Regions from separate parts of the Homo sapiens genome. Here region 1 is linked to region 2. The links are contacts of gene promoters, found by promoter capture Hi-C in human tissues and cell types (Jung and others, 2019). All regions are on one chromosome and are shown on one strand. The core of a region is centred on a gene start or on the middle of the fragment in contact, and the rest is flanking DNA. Distances in the headings are between cores, read along the strand shown. Region 1 has its middle 19 kb from the start of MMP12. Region 2 holds the start of MMP3 (matrix metallopeptidase 3).

Region 1 (4,177 bases), core at 1,599-4,098, 50 kb before region 2:
CAGCAATTCCACCACTGGGTCTATATTCAAAAGAAAGAAAATCAACATATCAAAAAGACATCTACACTCTCATTCTATTAGTCCATTTTTACACTGCTGATAAAGACATACCCAAGACTGGGCAATTTACAAAAGAAAGAGGTTCATTGGACTTACAGTTCCAGATGGCTGGGTAGGCCTCACAATCATGGCTGAAGGCAAGGAGGAGCAAATCACATCTTACGTGGATGGCAGCAGGCAAAGAGAGAGCTTATGTAGTGCAACTCCCATTTTTTAAAACCATCAGATCTCATGAGACCCATTCACTATCATGAGAACAGCATGGGAAAGACCCACCCCCGTAATTCAGTCATCTCCCACCAGATCCCTCACACAACACATGGGAATTATGGGAGCTACATGATGAGATTTGGGTAGGGACACAGAGCCAAACCGTATCACCCATGTTTACTGTGGCACTATTCACAATAGTGACAATGTGGAATCTACTTAAGTGTCCATCAATAGATGAATAGATAAAGAAAATATGGTATGTATACAGAATGGAATATTATTCAGCCCAAAAAATTAAATCCTTTGACCATGTTTGATTATGTTAAAAAAAAAAAAAGAATGAAATCCTGCCATTTGCAGAAAAATGGATGGAACTGGAGGTCATTACATTAACTGAAGTATTGCATGTTCTCACTCACATATGGGACCTTAGAAAGTAGATCTCTAGCAAAGACATGGAATCAACCTAAATGCCCATCAATAGTAGACTGGATAAAGAAAATGTGATATATATACATTATGGAATACTGATATGGCTTAGCTGTGTCCCCACCCAAATCTCACACGGAATTGTAATAATCCCCACATGTCAAGGGTGGGGCCAGCTGGAGAAAATTGAATCTTTGGGGCGGTTTCCCACATACTGTTCTTGTAGCAGTGAATAAATCTCACAAGATCTGATGATTTTATAAATGGGAGTTCCTTTGCACAAACTCTCTTACCTGCCACCATGTAAGATGTGACTTTGCTCCTCATTTGCCTTCCACCATGATTGTGAGGACTCCCCAGCCATGTGGAACTGTGAGTCAATTAAACCTCTTTTGTTTATAAATTACCCAGTCTCTGGTATGTGTTATTATTATTATTATTATTATTATTATTATTATTATTATTATTGAGATTGAGTCTTGCTCTGTCACCCAGGCTGGAGTGCAGTGGCACAATCTTGGCTCACTGCACCCTCCACCTCCTGGGCTCAAGTGATTCTCCTGCCTCACCACCCAAGTAGCTGTGATTAAAGCGCTTACCACCATGCCCAGCTAATTTTTCTGTATTTTTAGTAGAGACAGGGTTTCACCATGTTGGCCAGGCTGGTCTCAAACTCCTGACCTCAAGTGATCCACATGCCTCAGCCTCCCAAAGTGCTGGGATTATGGGCATGAGCCATCGCACCTGGCTCAGGTATGTCTTTATTAGCAGAATGAGAACAGACTAATATAGTAAATTGGTACTGGTAGAGTAAGGTGCTGCTGTAAAGATACCTGAAAATCTGGAAGCAACTTTGGAATTGGGTAACAGGCAGAGATTGGAATAGTTTGGAGGGCTCAGAAGAGGACAGAAAGATGTGGGAAAGTTTGGAATTTTCCAGAGACTTGTTCAATGGCTTTGACCAAAATGCTGATAGTGATATGGATAATGAAGTCCAGGTTGAGGTGGTCTCAGACGGAGGTGAGGAACATGTGGGAACTGGAATAAAGGTGACTCTTGCTATGTTTTAGCCAAGAGAATGGGAACATTTTGTCCCAGCTCTGGAGATTTGTGGAACTTTGAACTTGAAGGAGATGATTTAGGGCATCTGGTAGAAGAAATTTCTAAGCAGGCAAGCATTCAAGAGGGGATGGGTGCTGTTAAAAGCATTCAGTTTTATGTATTTACAAAGATAGATTTGTAATTGGAACTTATGTTTAAAAGGGAAGCAGAGCATCACAGTTTGGAAAATAGGCTATATGGTCTTTGTTGCAACTACTCAACTCTGCCACTGGGGGCTGGGTGTGATGGCTCACACCTGTAATCCCAGTGCTTTGGGAGGCCGAGGCGAGAGGATCACTTGAGATCAGGAGTTCAAGACCAGCCTCGCCAACATAGTGAAACCCCCACTCTACTAAAAAAAAATACACAGATTAGCCAGGTGTGGTGGCGTGCACCTGTAGTCCCAGCTACTCAGGAGGCTGAGGCAGGAGAATCTCTTGAACTTGGAGGTGGAGGCTGCAGTGACCAAGATCATGCCACTGCACTCCAGCTGAGGCAACAGAGTATATTAGTCAATTTTCCCACTGCTGATAAAGACGTGGACTTATAGTTCCACTTGGCTGGGGAGACCTCATAAATATGGTGGAAGGTGAAAGGCACGTCTCATATGGCAGCAGACAAAAGAAGAAGAACTTGTGCAGGGAAACTCCCCTTTTTAAAACCATCAGATCTTGTGAGACACATTCACTATCAGGAGACCAGTGCAGGAAAGACTCACCCCCATAATTCAATCACCTCCCACCGGGTTCCTCCCATGACACATAGGAATTGTTAGAGTTACAATTCAAGATGAGATTTGGGTGGGGACACAGCTAAACCATATCACACAGTGAGACTCTGTCTCAAAAAAAGAAAAAAAATCAACTCTGCCTTTGGAGAAAGAAAGCAGCCATAGATGATATATAATTGAATGCATATGACTGTGTTTCAATAAAATTTTATTTGTAGATACTGATATTTGAATTTCATATAGTTTTCATGTGTCTCTGTGTATTACTTTTATTTCATTTTTCAACCATTTAAAAATGGAACCTGGGTCAGTGACATGTGCTGTCATCCCAGTACTCAAGAAACTGAGGCATGAAGATCACTTGAGCCCAATAGTTTGAGACCAGCTTAGGCAATATGGTGAGACCTTGTCTTAAAAAAAAAAAAACCAACAACAATAAAATAAAATAAAAGTGGAAGGAAGGGCCATTTTTAGCTTGCAGGCTGGATTTGGTCTGTGGCCCATAACTTGTCAAGCCATGTCCTTCTATGGGGTTTACAGTTCATATAATTCTTTACTAAGTCATTTGCAGTCTAAATTGTTATTTTTTATATCTAGGTCTTGTGTCTTTAATTGGGTTGTGAGTTTTCTGAGGGAAGGCACCTCATACTTGTTTGTAAATGCTCTAAAGACCAAGTTCATTGGTGAAAAGCAAGTGTGATAAATGTTGATTAGAAGAATCAGTTTTGCCCACGATGATCTTGGTCACAGGGAGCTGTAGATGGTTGGAGGAGATTGGTGCTTCTAGTATGTGGAAGATCTAGGCAGAAACAGTGGGAACAGAAGACTCAGGAAAATCCTTGAAAGACAGCCAGAAAATAGAGTTGGATTCAATATTGAACTTTAAGATAGAGAGAAACTAGGAAGTAGATGTCTCTTTTTCATCCAAGCCATGAAATCAAAGTGAAGTCAGGCAGTAAAAACCAAACTCCTGGGCAGCTGCGTTTCTGCAATGCTCTAGTATATCTTTCTGGATCAAAATATTCACAAGGGAATTACTGAGCATTTCTACAACTGGTCCTTTGGCTAAAGTGCATCTTCCTACCTTTGACCTCGTGCTCCAATCGACTTTTCAAAACGCAATTTGGGATTCATCATTTCCAAAAAGCCTTTCCCACTTTCCACTTCATCCCCATCCCAACACGGATACAAACACACACACACACATACTGCCTTGAGCAGGCCTCCTCTAGTGCAGGGATAGTTACTCTCTTTCTGTTTACTGTGCCTCAGACAGTGGCTGGTGCCCTGCAGGTAATCAATGAGTTTTTTTTGTTGGTGTTTTTTTTTTTTTTTTTTTTTTTTGAGGTGGTGTCTCACTCTATTACCCAGGCTGGAGTGCAGTGGCATAATCTCAGCTCACTACAACCTCCACCTCCTGGGCTCAAGTGATTCCCCCACCTCAGCCTCCTGAGTAGCTGGGACTACAGGAACATGCCACCACACTCAGCTTTTTGTAGAGATGGGGTTTCACTATGTTGTTAAGGGTGGTCTCAAACTCCTGGGCTCAAGTGATCCACCAGCCTCGGCCTCCCAAAGTGTTAGGATTACAGGTGTGAACCACCTGGCCCTTTTTTTTAAATGCAGTTTTAAAATAGAACTTCT
Region 2 (4,020 bases), core at 540-3,039:
ATATAGAAGGAATTAGAGCTGCCACAGCTTCTACACTTTTAACCTCTCAATATTTTATCTGTTGGGCTCCACTGTTTCTTCCTGGAATTCACATCACTGCCACCACTCTGTTCTCCTTGTCCTCATATCAATGTGGCCAAATATTTTCCCTGTATTTCAATCAGGACAAGACATGGTTTTTCCCCCCATCAAAGGAATGGAGAACCATAGAATACTAGTTTTAAAATGTCTTTAGGCCAGGTGCCGTGACCCATGTCTGTAATCCTAGCACTTTGAGAGGTTGAGGCAGGAGAATCACTTGAGCCCAGAGCTCGAAACCAGCCTGGGCAACATAGTGAAACCTCTGTCTCTATTTTTTAAATAAAATTTGAAAAAGTCTTTAGACATAATCTAGTCTAAAAATGAAGGCTTAAATGTGATGTATAGCCCCCTGCCAAGTGGCTATCAACTGTGTGGGCATCTTCAGTCATAGGGATCTTATTGCCACAGAGAAATCCCTTTAAACTTATTGGGTAAAATCTCTCCAATGTTTATTAAGAAACACACAAAAAATAAAGCAAAGAAGAAAATGCAAAAGAGTTATAAATGAGAGGAAGCAAAATGGGCACTTATTAAAGGTCTAATAAATGCACATTTGTATCCATCATTCTACTGAGTTCTTACTCCCAAGATGTTCTTCCCTTTAGCAAACAAATAAGCAAGTCAGCAAAGAAAGAAAGAACAAACAAAATGTGGTGATCAGGGAAGCATTGAGGAGATGGATGGTGGCAGGTGGCAAGAGGACTATAAAAGTTTTACAAAATGTCTTCCTCTGAATATGTTTAGAGTCTTGCATTCAAGCATTTATTATACACCAATAATGTGAGCAACACTTTACTTGACAAAGAAACAGAAAAGAAAGGAAAGGAAGAAAACAGAAGAGCATGAAGAGAAAATTTAGGATGGATTCTGTTCTTCAACTTCAAAGCATCTGCTAATTTGAATTTAGGGAGGAGGGGAAAAGGTTGAAAGAGAATAAGACATGTGTAGAAGACAAGGACAGAGAGAATTTCAGTCCGGTAAGCAATGTAATTCATTTCAATTCTACAACTATTTATGGAGCAGCTACGTGGGCCCATCACCCATTAATAAATTGGTTACAGAATTAAAACCAACCCAAAGGGAATATACTTCCTTCTTTTTCACAGACCCTCTTTGTTCTATTCTGCCCATGAGGTTTTCCTCCTCAAGAACCAGCAAATCCAACGACAGTCAATAGCAGGCATTACAAATCAGATTCAGAAAAATAAATCACCCCTTCTAAATTTCTTCTAGATATTATCTTTTATGTTTTGAGTATAATTGTATATAGTATAGACTATAGCTATGTATGTACACTTTCCACTTACATCTTTTATTTGCTTTTATAATGTGTTTCTTAAAATAAAACTGCTTTTAGAAGTTCTGCACAATTCTGATTTTTACCAAGTCAACCTACTTCTTCTCTCAAAAGGACAAACATAAATTGTCTAGTGAATTCCAGTCAATTTTTCCAGAAGAAAAAAAATGCTCCAGTTTTCTCCTCTACCAAGACAGGAAGCACTTCCTGGAGATTAATCACTGTGTTGCCTTGCAAAATTGGGAAGGTTGAGAGAAATTAGTAAAGTAGGTTGTATCATCCTACTTTGAATTTGGAATGTTTGGAAATGGTCCTGCTGCCATTTGGATGAAAGCAAGGATGAGTCAAGCTGCGGGTGATCCAAACAAACACTGTCACTCTTTAAAAGCTGCGCTCCCGAGGTTGGACCTACAAGGAGGCAGGCAAGACAGCAAGGCATAGAGACAACATAGAGCTAAGTAAAGCCAGTGGAAATGAAGAGTCTTCCAATCCTACTGTTGCTGTGCGTGGCAGTTTGCTCAGCCTATCCATTGGATGGAGCTGCAAGGGGTGAGGACACCAGCATGAACCTTGTTCAGGTAATTAACACTAACTGACCTGGCCAGGTGGGGAGCTTCCAGAGTAAGCTGAAACCATTCTGTGTGTCTTAAAACCCACATAGAATGCTTGAGCTTACTGTGTAGGAACAGTTCAAGAATAGAGAGTTATAGAGTGTTGGAAGTGGAAAAGGTCTCATTATCACACCATTTGGGCTTCTCCTCTTATGTAGGAAGAAACAAAGGCCAGAAATATTAGGTGTTTTCTTAAGATCACACAACACCATAGCAGTAGCAGCACTGGGGCTTAAGGCACATGAGTAACAAGTGGAGAGTGGATGAACCATATCTTGCTTTGGAACAGCTTCAGTTTTTTTTTTAATGCAACGTAATTTTAGCTAAATATTTGTGTTGCTAGTATCATATTATAAAATTTGCCATTATTTCAGCAAGCTAGAGAAATACTCCAAATAGATTAAGAAGTGAGCAACTGCAAAAACTTACTATAAATAGATAGCTATAGTAAAAATTGTAAGAGTGACCTAAAAACTATACTTATTCTGTTAGAAATATCTAGAAAACTACTACGACCTCAAAAAAGATGTGAAACAGTTTGTTAGGAGAAAGGACAGTGGTCCTGTTGTTAAAAAAATCCGAGAAATGCAGAAGTTCCTTGGATTGGAGGTGACGGGGAAGCTGGACTCCGACACTCTGGAGGTGATGCGCAAGCCCAGGTGTGGAGTTCCTGATGTTGGTCACTTCAGAACCTTTCCTGGCATCCCGAAGTGGAGGAAAACCCACCTTACATACAGGTAATGGTTCAGAGGGGTTTTCACATAAGATTGGAATTTTATAAACTATATCATAGGAGAAAATAGCATCTGCTTCAATTTTTCTCCTACAGGATTGTGAATTATACACCAGATTTGCCAAAAGATGCTGTTGATTCTGCTGTTGAGAAAGCTCTGAAAGTCTGGGAAGAGGTGACTCCACTCACATTCTCCAGGCTGTATGAAGGAGAGGCTGATATAATGATCTCTTTTGCAGTTAGAGGTAAAAAAAAAAAAAAAAAAAAAAAAGCAAAACAAAACAAAACAAAAAACACATGAAATGTATCCATTCATCTATCTGGTGTTGTTGTACTGGAAAAGGCTCAAAAGGGATCCTTGTTACATATCTTTCCAATAAATTTTTTTCCTACTAGAACATGGAGACTTTTACCCTTTTGATGGACCTGGAAATGTTTTGGCCCATGCCTATGCCCCTGGGCCAGGGATTAATGGAGATGCCCACTTTGATGATGATGAACAATGGACAAAGGATACAACAGGTTAGTTACACATCTCTCAGAATGATTTTGGCATTAATTTTTTTATATGTAGAAATCTGTTAATAACCAAGAATGCTCAAGAAATGAGATGTTCTGGATTTTCCAGTGGATCAGAGATCAGCAGAATATATTTTTGTTTTAATTATTATTGAAAATATTTTCAGATGCTTTAACAGTTTTCCTATATTGGTAAGCACAATATAGGAAATATCATTAAGTATTTCTTTAATGACTGGATCTTTGTGATCTAGGGGTAACCATTATTAAGAAAAATTTCTCATATCAAAATACAAACATTCAAGGGATAGTATATTGCACTGAATCTACATTAAAATGTGCTCTGGATGTTACTTATGTAATTTCCTCCATTTACTTCTTTACTCTTCAAACCAGAAATAAGAATTAAATTTCAGAAACTGAGATTCTCTTTTTTTTTTTTTTCTGGCTGAGGCATTATTTTAGTACTTTTAGGTTAAAAGAATTTTTATGGGCTTGTTCTGAAGGAAAAGACTAACTCCCAAATACAACGTTCAAACTGTTTAGGTAGAAGAATGTTTCTCAGTTCATAACTGTATGTTTTGGGGAATGACATCCAAAGTTTTCAAAAAAATCAGCTAAAACAATTAACACTACTTCTAAAAAAATAGGAAAACAATTAATACTATGTCTGAGGTTTAACTGGGATTTATAATGAAAATGTAAACCTCTGTAGGACGTACAAATGTGAGTTTAGTCCTGGATAGAATTCTTGATTGGTTGAGTTAACGAATTCTTGT

The links. Contacts are between HindIII fragments. The study calls those that stand out against the background at their distance.
Region 1: a fragment that was not itself captured here is called in contact with the fragment with the promoter of MMP3 in region 2 in 1 of the 25 tissues and cell types used here (pancreas).

The regions. Positions count from the first base shown.
Region 1 is chr11:102,892,142-102,896,318 of GRCh38, reverse strand. No RefSeq gene overlaps it. Among named protein-coding and RNA genes, the nearest start is that of MMP12, 19 kb to the right of the region's middle. The HindIII fragment of the contact is 3,990 bases long and covers 854-4,177 here.
Region 2 is chr11:102,841,378-102,845,397 of GRCh38, reverse strand. It overlaps MMP3 (matrix metallopeptidase 3), which reads left to right and starts at 1,789. Exons shown (of 10, transcript NM_002422.5): 1 at 1,789-1,956; 2 at 2,482-2,726; 3 at 2,819-2,967; 4 at 3,119-3,244. The coding sequence starts at 1,852. The HindIII fragment of the contact is 10,071 bases long and covers 1-4,020 here.